Regions from separate parts of the Homo sapiens genome. Here all the other regions are linked to region 3. The links are contacts of gene promoters, found by promoter capture Hi-C in blood cells and fetal thymus (Javierre and others, 2016). All regions are on one chromosome and are shown on one strand. Each heading gives the region's core, a stretch centred on a gene start or on the middle of the fragment in contact. The rest is flanking DNA. Distances are from core to core; before and after follow the strand shown.

Region 1 (3,895 bases), core at 1,034-3,533, 240 kb before region 3:
AAAGACATATGCCCCGGCCCCAGATCCCCAAGAAACTGGAGCTTCCCTGAGGGTTTCGTGAAGTAACGTACCCAAGAGCCCTTGTAAAGGATAAAGCCCTCTGCAGATAACCAGTCTCCTAACTCAGTGATTATCTGAGATATGAGAGCTTTATGAACTAAAATGTGTTGTGCAAATGTCAAGATTTAATATTAGAGGCAGAAAACAGATGTTGTGTTTTTATTCTATAATTAATGGGATGTGCTATGCCATAAGTATACCTTGCAATTTGTTGCCTTTGCTATTCTAATACCTTTCTTCAATGTCTGTCCTTGGAAGAGTTCCAGAGTAAGACAAAAACTATAGAGAGAATACAATAGAGAGAATATGAAACCAGGCCAGGATTAAGTAAGAGACTTGGTTCCAGAAGACACTAAAACAGTATCTGCAAAGATACAACCTAGTGTCTTGAGTGTTCCTAGGATGCATAGGATTGGAGAGGAGCTATCAAGGTAAGACCTCTGTACAATCCTCAGGCCAGCTGTCTCTGCCCCTTATCTGAAGGTGTCACGTGGCAGTGAAGACCCAAGCTCAATTCTCTTACAAGAACAGAAAACCACAGGCAATGAAACAATATCTAGTTCTCTACCTTAAAACGCTACTAGCTAGGGTGATCTTTCTGGACCCTAAATGACAAAGTCTGTAGTCATATACCATCAACCTAAAGGAGAGACAGTGATCTGCCTATGTACTGGCAAATAATCTTCAGAAGAAAATAGTGATTAGAACTGAAATTATTATATTTAGCAGATATTTATATCCCTTCCAGTCCCCATTCTTATTTTATACCTTAATGCAGGCCTATAGTTTGGTAATTTTAATACAACTACTTGCTGGGGCTAACCAGGGCCTGTCAACAGCTCCTCTCAGTGTTCTAGAATAGAAATTGGCTAATAAAAACTGTTAACCGCTCTTTTCCAATGCTGCTGCTGTTCTTTAAAACGAAAGATTAGCCCAGTACAATCCTTCTAATGGACATATTCTTTTATTCTTGATTGTCCTATATACAAGCGCTTACCTAAGCTTTCCACATAATGGTTAGTGGCCTTGGCACGCTGGGTTTGAATCCCTGACCTCGAATCCCTGACCTCGCTTATTAGCCTTGTAACACAATTTCCCTAAGCCTCAGTCTTATCCTCAAAAATGTGGCTAATACTACTTATCTCATGTGGTTGTTTTAAGGAGTAAATGAAATAACCTATAGAAACCCTTCAGTATAGAGTCTGGCATAGGGTAGGTGCTCAATATATTTTATTCATTTTCCTTCAAGCTATTTGAAATCGTTTTGGGAAGAAGGCAAGATTTAAATGATAAACAAGCAAACAGTTCTCTATTGCATCATAATTACAAAAAAACAGATGGCATAAGGAAAATCTTGGTCGGTCTATTGTTATATCAAAGAAACCATGCTAAACCAAAAAAAAAATCCTTGCTTTGGAGGCACTTATGAAGTAGGATTAAATGAAAGTGTTGGAATACAGATGAGAAGGAACCTTAGACACAGGTTCTCCCACCGAAGACCATATCAGCAATGCTTCTAATTACCAATATATCAAAGTCCTCTCCACTCCCTGTAACTGGCAGGAGACAATCTGAGGCAAACTCAGTGTACCAAGAAGTCCTGTGAAAACTTAACCTAGACAGCACAATGAATGAAAGGGAATGAATTCCCTGGCTTTTGGCCTTCTAACACGTGACCAGTATGCTTCAAAACATGTTTAAAACTGTTTCTGTAAAATATTTTTGCCACCTAAGTTTCCCCCCCGCCCCTTCATAAAAGTGATATTTGAGTAGTGAGGGGAGAAATGGCTCAAAATTTGTTACAAGAGGTTCCAAAGAAAGACAATAAGGTATAGAGAAAGGGAAGACAGGAAGAAAGAGAAAGAGGTCAAGTATGTAGTGGATAGTACAGGGAAGTCACAAGTATCTTCTGTCTGGAAATGCTGCAGATTTTGTGGTTAGCCTCAAGATATTAGGTGGGAATAAACATGTCATTGAGAGTAAATGTAAACACAAAAATGAAAAATAAAAATTGTAACAATTCACTTTATTCTAAACTGTTTTTGATGGTTATATATGGCAGGCCTAGGAGGCAATGTTAGACAGTAGATAGTTGCCTTCGGCGGAGGGTGACCTGTGTTCTGTCCACTGCTCTACATTGTAAAGAGGTGTCATCTTGGACAAGTCACGGCAGCTCATGTTGAGTCTTGGGATGATTCTTTATCTAAAGGTAGAGAACTGAACCAGCTTTTTGATGGTGATGAGGAGGGGTTTTGAGAGGAACAAGGATATACAGCATCTCTATTGAATATTTGGGCCATAATGTAACAGCCTAGGATGCTGAGATTTACTCAAGAGCTGAGGACGGCTAGGGGCCAAACACAGATTTTTAAGTTTTGAGATAGGGTTTACTCTGTTGCTAAGACTGGAGTGCAGTGGCAAGATCACAACTCACTGCAATCTCTGCCTCCCAGGTTCAGGCCATCCTCCCACCCCAGCCTCCTAAGTATCTGGGACTACAGCACATGCCACCATGCCCAGCTAATGTTTAAATTTTTTATAGAGAAGGGGTCTTGCCATGTTGCCCAGGCTGGTCTCAAATACCTGGGCTCAAGTGATCTGCCAGCTTTGGCCTCCCAAAGTGTTAGGATTACAGGTGTGAGCCACTGCACCCAGCCTCAAATACAGATTTTTAAGAGGCCAGATTTATACACCTGGCCATCATGGTCATGTTGGTTAACCTCCATCATGAAGCTAGGCTTTTTAACCTTCAGGAAAACTACCCCAGAGCAGTTAATGGCCTAAATAAAGGAGGTCAAGCTATATGTCTCAGTTTAAAACAGAACATGACAAATTAACCTGAAGCAGGAAAAGGAGGGGACATCAAACCTGACACCCATCCTGATAAGAGTAACTGCTCTCATTTGACAGCCAGAGTTAAACTAGATGTATGCAATCTCTACAACAAACATAGTCAATGCCAATCAGATAGTCAGAGGAACCATCATTTAATGGGAAATAACGCAATAACATATATAACAGAGCTGACCGGAGGTGTTGCTATAGATAATTCATAACAGCAGTAAATTCAAAAGTCATTTACTATGTTTTTAGCTTTGTCATTAACACAGCCTGTGTGGATACTCCCTGTTTCACGTCTAGATGACTTCCTCCTGGCTTTGCTCAAGGGTCCTTTAGCATTTGAGGAGATGATAAGGGATGGGATCCCCGCCTGTTGAACCAGAGGAATCTGAGGAGTACCAGGTTTCCACTGAAGACTAAATCATGATCCAGAGAAGGAATCTCAGAAGTCATTCTTGTCGTGGGCATGGCTTAACGTCTGTCTCCCCACTGTGGGCCCTGCCCTCGAGAGCAAGGGTCTCCTTATTCATTTTTATATTCCCAGTGCCTACCACTTTGTGGAGCCCTTAGTAGAAAAGGTATTCAATAAACGCACATTGAGTTTAAGCTTTCTATTTCTCCTCCCCCAACTAGTATATATTACAGAAGCACTGAAAATTCAGAAATCAGCCAGTGTCAGGGCTCCTGGGTAATAAACCATTCACAGGGATAGCTGTAGGAATTTGGCATAAGCATTTATTCCAATCTCTTGGGGGTAATCAAGTGGCATAATCATGCCCTGCTTTACTGTGTAGCATAAGGCCAGTAGAGAAAAACATCAAGAGGGGAGGAGGACAAGGGATGGAGTTCAATACACAAATATCTACTGAGCGTCAATTACGTGTCCCACACTATTCAAGGTGCTGGGCAAAGAAAGATAAAAAAAGCAGAAGCTCTGACCTTGAGGAACTTAACAGGTAGTTAAGAAATTGCAGAATTTTAGCAATACTAGGAA
Region 2 (4,098 bases), core at 2-2,501, 170 kb before region 3:
ATGACATACATTACATAAGTGTACAATGTGTTTATACTTTTATATATAAATTTGTTATATAAGTATATAGTATATTTATACTATATTATTAATTTTATGATAATATAATAATTTGTTGTTTTTGTTATTTTGCTCCCAATTTCTGCTTTCAATAAGAAATTATTTCTCTGGTTTCTGATAAAACTCCTCCGAGGCTCATAGCATACAATCTTTTTTATTTTTCTAGTATACCATCTTATAAATTTTCTTTGATTCCGCCATTTATTGCCTGAGTTTCAAGAAATAAGCAAATAACTGCTATAGAGCCTTCAAGTAAGACCATTATGGAAGTCATTTTTTAATTGACTCTTTCAGTGGTTCATGTGAACAGCTTTTCTCAGCTGTTTTGATTTGCTTTTGTTGATATTCAACCTAAAACTTGAATGTCTTTTTTTCAAAAATAATCTCAACTTTTATTTTAGATTTCAGGGTACATATACAGGTTTGTTACATGGGTATGTTGCACGATGCTGAGGTTTGGGGTATGGATGATTCCGTCACTTGGGTAATGGGCATAGTACCCAATAGGTAGTTTTCCAGCCCACACACCCCTCCCTCCTTTCCCCCCTAGTAGTTCTCAGTGTCTATTATTCCTATCTTTATGTCCACATGTACCCAATGTTTAGCTCCCACTTATAAGTGAACACATGTGGTATTTGGTTTTCTGTTCCCATGCTAATTCACTTAGGATAATGGCCTCTGGCTACAGCCATGTTGCTGCAAAGGATATGATTTCATTCTTTCTCATGGCCATGTAGTAGTCCATGGTGTATATGTACCACATTTTCTTTATTCCACCATTGACGGGCACCTAGGTTGATTCTATGTCTTTTGCTATTGTGAATAGTGCTGCAATGAACATATGTGTGCATGTGTCTTTCTGATAGAACAATTTTATATTCCTCTAGGTATATATTCAGTAATGAGATTGCTGGGTCATATGGTAGTTTTAAGTTCTTTGAGAGTCATATGGTCGTTTTAAGTTCTTTTAGAAATCTCCAAACTGCTTTCCACAATGGCTGAACTAATTTACATCTCACCAACAGTATATAAGCATTTCCTTTTCTCTGCAGCCTTACTGGCATCTGTTATTTTTTATTATTTTAACTTTTATTTTAGGTTCATGGGTACATGTGTAGGCTTGTTGTGTAGGTAAATTGTATGTTATGGGGATTTGGTGTACAGATCATTTTGTCACCCAGGTATTATAAATAGTACACAATAAGTAGTGTTTCCATCCTCACCCCCCTCCCACCCTCCAATCTCAAGTAGGCCTCTGTGTCTGTTGCTCCCTTCTTTGTGGCCATATATACTCAAAGTTTAGCTCCCACTCGTAAGTGAGAATAGGCAATATTTGGTTTTCTGTTCCTGTATTAACTCACTTAGGATAATGGCCTCCAGCTGCATTCACGTTGCTGAAAACGACATGGTCTCATCCTTTTTTAAAGTTGCATAGTATTCTATTAGGTATATGTACCACATGTTTTAATCCAGTCTACAGTTAATGGGCATTTAGGTTGATTCCATGTCTTTGCTATTGTGAATAGTGCTGCAGTGAACATACTTGTTCATGTGTCTTTATGGTAGAATGATTTACATTCCTTTGGGTATATACCCCGTAATGGGATTGCTGGATTAAATGGCAATTCTGTTTTAAGTTCTTTGGGAAATCTCCAAACTGCTTTCCACAATGGTTGAACTAATGTATACTCCCACCAGAGGTGTATAATCATTCCCTTTTCTCAACAACCTCTCCAGCCTCTGTTATTTCTTGCCTTTTTAGTAATAGCCATTCTGACTGATATGAGATGGTATCTTCTTATGGTTTTGATTTGCATTTATCTAATGGTTAGTAATGTTGAGCATTTTTTCATGTTTGTTGGTCACTTGTGTGTTTTCTTTTGCAAAGTGCCGGTTCATGTCTTTTAATTATTTTTTTAATGGGTTGTTTGTCTTTTGCTTGTAAATTTGTTTAGGTTCCTTATTGATTGTACATATTAGATCTTTGTTGGATGCATAGTTTGCAAATATTTTCTCCCATTCTGTAGGATGTCTGTTTACTCTGTTGATAGTTTCTTTTGCTGTGCAGAAGCTCTTTAGTTTAATTAGGTCCCACTTGTCAATTTTTGTTTTGTTGCTATTTCTTTTGAGGACTTAATCACAAATTCTTTGTCAAGGCTGTTGTCAAGAAGGGCATTTCATAGGTTTTCTTTGAGGAATTTTATAGTTTGAGTTCTTACATTTAAATCTTTAAAAAATTTGAATATCTTAATCTTATTTCCAATGATTATTTCCTCTTAAGTCATCAACTCCATTTTTGTAAATTAGATCTTGCCATTACATATAAATAATCTCTGAAATGTCAAATTCTAGGGTACCAATTTTGAACTATATTCCTCTAATTAAACAACTGTTTCTATGCACTTATTTCATGGCTTGGTCCAGATCTCCAGCTGATAAATTCCTCCATTTTCTAGCAACCTTTCTGCATATATATATATTTATATATGTACACACACACACATATACATATAGATAGAAGTCCAGATCTCCAGCTGATAAATTCCTCCATTTTCTAGCAACCTTTCTGCATATATATATATATTTATATATATACACACACACACATATACATATAGATAGAGCGATATTTTAGAAAACTACATATATATATATACATGTGAAACAAATTTTTCTTTCAGTATTTTAAAGATGTTACTTCACTATCTTCTGGTTTGCACTGCTTCTCACAGGAAATCTGCTGTTAATCTATCTTTGTTTCTTAGTATGTAATATATCCATTTTGGGTTTTTTTCTGCTTTAAGATCTTCTCTTTATCAATGGTTTTAAGAAATTTGATTATCATGTGGTTTGGTGTAGTTTTATCCGTATCTCTTTTGCTTGGGGGTTTGTTGAGCTTCTTGAACCTTTGAGATTATAATTTTTATCAAATTTGGAAAATTTTTGGTCACTATTTTTTCAGATTTTTTCCATTCTCATTTTACTTCAGTGACTCTAAGTGGGATTTGCTTGAAGTTGTACCACATTTCACTGATATTCTGGGGTTTTTTTTTTGTTTTATCTTTTCTCCTTTAGGTATTGTTTTTATTGGTATGTGTTCAAGTTCATTACATTTTTCTCCTACAATGCCCAATCTGTCGATAATTTTATCCTGTGTAATTTTTCATCTCAGACATTGTACTTTTCATCTCTACTTAACAACAAGTGGAATGTAGACATAGTAACAGTCTCAATGTCTTTGATAATTCTATTGTCTCTGCCATTTCCGGATCAATTTCAGTTGATTGACTTGTGAGTTTGTTTTCCTGCTTCTTTATATATCTGTTAATTTTTTGATTGGATACGAAATGCTGTGAAATTTGCCTTCTTGGGTGCAGGATATTTTTGTACTCCTAAAAACATTCTGAAGCTTTTTTCTGGGGTGTAGTTCAGTTGCTTGGAGACAGTTTGATTATTTTGGATCTTGTTTTCAGTCTTTGAATAAGTTAAAGTACTCTTAGAAGACTATCACATCACAAGCACCTAATAAGAATGAGCAGAGAAAGACACACACACAGATTTTTGTTGCGGAATGAGCACTTCCACAAGTGGAAGCTGACACAAAAATGAGAGCCTATGGGAAATATACATCCCCCTAATGTCACTTCAAGCGACATTGTACAATGACATTAAGGGGACATTGTAAGCCTTAAGATTTTAGGTGCTACATTGACATCTCTAAGCTCCACAGGGCCTAAGTGAGTTCCCCTGCTTTCACTAGATATGCCTCCACCCGGCAGCAGGAAAGCCTCCCCTACTTGGCCATTTTTCCTATCAGTCAGGCCAACTGCACCCCACTCAGTATTCAACCTAACAGGCTTCCATCTCCTGCCAGCCCAGCAGCTGTTCACTCTGCCCCGAGTGCCACCGCCGTGTCACCCTGCTTGGCATGCAGTGTCCTCCTCTCTCAGCTGTGAATATATGTAACTAATAAACTACTCTCAACTTTATCTGTCCGTCATTGAGTATCATGTATTTGGCCATCTCTAGAATCATGGG
Region 3 (4,189 bases), core at 1,160-3,659:
CAACTAGTACAGTGCCTTGTACATACATATGTCAAAAATGATTATAATTATGATTCCCATTCTAATAGTCTTATAATTTTTTCTCTTCAAAACACTTCTGATCTAATTCTATAAAGTGTCTCTTCATCTAGGTTTAGCAATACTTTTATTATCTTATGTCTCTGATGTTATAATAGTTTATTAACTGGCCATTCTACCATTTCTCCTTTTTTTGTCTCTCTTTTCTAATTTATCTCATGGTTTAGCATTTAAAGAAGTGGCTTCTCAGGATAAAGGTATTTCTATAGATGACAAGGAGGAGGAAAAGTAAACAGGTAGGATGCCTAGGGCATAATCTGAATTCTTTAGGTTGGCATTCAAGGACATTTTCATCTTATAGAATAGGTTAGGTGAATACAACACAACTCCTTCCTCTTGTATGGTAAGCTGGTTTAACTAAAACCTTGAGTTATCTTTTATAATTTTGAAGTCTAGAAATGCCCTTTCTTTTGTAGTTGCCCTATAAACTCAATGAAGATATTAAAACCTTGCTAATCTTTCAGAAACAATTTGAACCTTAGCTTGTATCATAAGCTCTCTTTGATTTCTTCAACCAGCTTGGTAAGAAACATGAGCGCCTATTTTACATGACACTTAATATAACTATTTTATTTAGACCTCATAATATCCTACAAAGCAATTATTTTAAATCTTACTCTTAAAAGTGGAGACTAAAACTGCAATTATGACATCTGTACAAAATTCTACAACTAGACCTGGTTGGATCAGTATTAGAATACTGGTAGGTTCAATTGACACCAAAACCCATGTTATTTCTATCTCTCAATGTGGCCTAAAGTATATACTACCATGAGTGGGAGAATAAAGAAAATGTGACTTTCTAAGTCACCTTGGACAATCACTTTTCTCCTTGTATTTTATCATTTTAAAAAATGTGGTTTCTAAGCTGGGAAATATGTATACAAAGGTTTTTTCATTGCCTTTTATATTTTTGTTTACAGTATTCTGTATGTATTTAATAAAGTTATTTCATAAAAAGTAAAACAATCATTTACTAATACAAATGAGGATACGAATAGCATTTCACATACCTCTGAACCATAGAACATAGATTTTGGAGAGACTCTAGACATCATCTAATCCAGCCTCCTCATTTTCTAGATGAAGTGTTTGCAAGGGAGAGAGTGAGGTAGACCATTTGGCCAAAGCTGGGGGAAAGTGTGTGACTGAGTTGCAACTCAGTTATTCTGATTTCCACCTGAATGATTTGAGATGTGAATAGTTGCTTTCCTGGCAGGCAAATTGTGAGTTTTGATAGCACAGACTATGGGGGTGGGCTGCCTGCTGTAGACTCTCGGAAGCTGCTGCACAAAAGCCTTTGCAGAGCATGCTTCACCTCCTTGTTCCGCAAAGTGTAAATGAATGGGTTGAGCATTGGAGTTACGATTGTGTAGAAGACAGCAGGGGCCCCAGCTCCTGCCTCACTGGAGCGAGGCTGCAGGTAGATACAGACAGGTGGCACGTAGTACAGGAGCACCCCAGTGAGCTGGGCAGTGCAGGGGGAGAAGGCCCGCTGCCGGCCCTGGGCTGTGCGGATGCGCAACACAGCTGCCACGATGAAGATGTAGGAAATAACGATGAGGATGAGGCAGCCTGCAGCCACGATGCCAATGCTGGCAAGCATGACTAGCTCATTAATGGTGGTGTCTGTACAGGCGAGCTTTAGGACAGGGGGTATGTCGCAGAAGAAGTAGGCAATGTGGCAAGGCCCACAGTAGAGCAGGCGGAAGGTGAGGGAGGTGTGGATTGCAGCGTGCGTGGCACCTATGGCCCAGGTGATTCCAGCCATTTCTGCACACATCCTTCTGTTCATGGCCACTGGGTAGTGCAGGGGTTGACAGATAGCCAGATAGCGGTCATAGGCCATGACTGTGTACAGGAAGCACTCAGTGCTGGCCAGAAAGTGGAAGCAATAAAGCTGTACGGCACAGCCCTCAAAGGAGATCACCTTCCCATCCAGAGTCAGCAGGCCTGCCATGACCTTGGGCACTGTCACTGTAGACAAACAGGCATCCAGGAAGGAGAGGTGCCCCAGGAAGTGGTACATGGGTAAGCTGAGGTGAGAGTCAGAGCCCACAGTTAGGAGGATGAGGAGATTCCCAGCCACAGTGATGCTGTAGATGAGGAGGAAGAGGAGGAAGAAGAGGCTAGAATGTTTAGCGGTGTACCTCAAACCCTCCAGGAAGAAGTGGCTCACCACAGTCTGGTTGGGGTTCTCCGTTGTCATGGTCATCTTCTCACACACAGAGCGGCTAGTCATCCCCTTTGCAACAAAACTGACATTAATGGAATAAATAGCTGTATCCCTTTCCTGAGATGTCATTATCCATCAAGCCACACCACCTTGGTCTTACCCAGTAAGCAAGAGAAAGATGTACAAGTTCATCTTACAGTTTTGTTCTGCTCTAGTCTAGTGCTTCCTTGCTGTTTATTTCTTCATAATGAATCTTTCAATACAAAATCTGCAGTTTTGGTGAGGTATATAAAGGACTGTAAGAATTATTTGCAGAAATGCACTCCCTAAATAATGACAATAAAAATATGGATTATAAATCCTACTCTCAATGAGTATTTTTTGCAAATATTCCAGAATTGTGATGCCTCTGCCCTCCTACTCTATGTACCCTGCCATGCTGTAGATGTAGAAAGGCAGGTTCTTATTGCTGTGTCATCAGGGAGATGCATCCTATTTTCAGGTGAGACTTGCCTGGAGTTTTGGTGCTATTACATCAGCCAGAAACACAGCAGCCCCACCCATTACTCAACCAGAGGAGTTCTTTGGAATTTCAGTTACCCACAATCCTCAAGTGTGTAACAATTGAGGCTTGGAGAATAGACTGAATAATTATCAGGACAATTTTTTCTATACACTTTGTGTTCTTCCTGTAAAGCTCTGTTTCAAAATTTGGGGAATTGTTTGCCTTTTCCTTTCTTGTTGAGCCTTTCCACTGGACTGTAATTGAGATTTAAAGAGTTCTCTTTGATTCTTCCATCTTTCACCTCGTTAGCCTAACAGATGTTGCATTAGGTGAAAAATTTCCTTAAACTGCTTTTTTTCCGTGTTGTCTCTTCAATTCCTGTGGATTTTACCTAAACCCACCTCTTCATATTTTACACCTAGATTTTCACAATGGTATTTTATGTCCCATCTCTTCCTTACTCCCTGATATACCAAATGATTCAGTATTCAACTTTTTTGTGCCAGTTTTCTTAAAAAAATTCGAATATATCTTTTCTTACTGTTCCTTAGTGCCTGAGATATAAAGTGTATCTCTGTCCTACATTCAGAATTATCTGTAAACTATTTCCATTATCATGAAAAAAATCTTTATCTTCTGCAATCCCCTAAGAAACTCCTGTTATCCAGGGATGCTATTTGCCTCATCTCCTCAATTTGCCATAATCTCTCTCTGATCTTGTCACAGGATCCTTAGGATGTCACTTTTCCAGACAGAAACCTCTGTGGCTGGTGGTTCCTCTGCTTGAGTTTGCTCATGGCTGCTGGGTTCTTTTCACCCACTTGGCCTGGCAGGCTGCACTTGGCTCGTGCTACCAGCCTGGATTCCATGCTTGCCAAGGGTGGGAGAGGCGAGAGGTGTGTGAGTGAGCAAGCACAGGGGTCTGGCCACTGCACACAGCCAGGCACACTTGCTGCTGTGGTGGGATGGGCAGCTCCAGGTGCCAGCAGAGGCACCAGCTTCATGTGAGGCTATAGCTGGACCAGGCATACTGCAAGTGGTTTCCATTATGGGCACCAGCATCTGGACGAGGGGAATATGGGGGCACCCAAAAGCTCAGAGATGCCAGGAACTGCAGAGCCCAAAGAGGGTATTACAGCCTGTCACAGCCCTGGCTCAGGGAGTCCTGAGGTCTGGGCTCCAAGAAGCTCTTCTTTCCTTCTCGTCACCCACAATGCAGCCAATGAGGGGGTGAGTTTGGGGGTTTGTGTTTCAGTCTGTTTGTGTTACAGCCCTTTCAGTCCCACCACCCCACTCTGACCTGCAGCTCCTGGGCTGGCCTGGCCCACCTCTGCTTCCTGTCCCATTGGGTGGCCACCCAGCACTGGCAGAGGGTGGGAGGGCTATAGTGTTACAGCAGCTCTGGCTTGGGGAGTCCCGAGGTCTGGGCC

What was found. Contacts are between HindIII fragments. The CHiCAGO score rates a contact against its expected background, and 5 or more counts as called.
Region 1: a contact is called between a fragment that was not itself captured here and the fragment with the promoter of OR10S1 in region 3, in 1 of 17 cell types (endothelial precursors). The highest score is 5.3, in endothelial precursors.
Region 2: a contact is called between a fragment that was not itself captured here and the fragment with the promoter of OR10S1 in region 3, in 1 of 17 cell types (neutrophils). The highest score is 5.2, in neutrophils.

What each region holds. Positions count from the first base shown.
Region 1 is chr11:123,735,594-123,739,488 of GRCh38, forward strand. All of the region lies in intron 3 of ZNF202 (zinc finger protein 202), which reads right to left. Among named protein-coding and RNA genes, the nearest start is that of ZNF202, 4.1 kb to the right of the region's middle. The HindIII fragment of the contact is 2,446 bases long and covers 1,061-3,506 here.
Region 2 is chr11:123,811,379-123,815,476 of GRCh38, forward strand. The region is part of intron 2 of LOC105369544 (a long non-coding RNA gene); the gene reads left to right. Among named protein-coding and RNA genes, the nearest start is that of OR6M1, 7.1 kb to the left of the region's middle. The HindIII fragment of the contact is 4,432 bases long and covers 1-3,467 here.
Region 3 is chr11:123,975,372-123,979,560 of GRCh38, forward strand. OR10S1 (olfactory receptor family 10 subfamily S member 1) reads right to left here and starts at 2,410. Exons shown (of 1, transcript NM_001004474.2): 1 at 1,290-2,410. The coding sequence starts at 2,293. The coding sequence ends at 1,325. The HindIII fragment of the contact is 7,911 bases long and covers 1-4,189 here.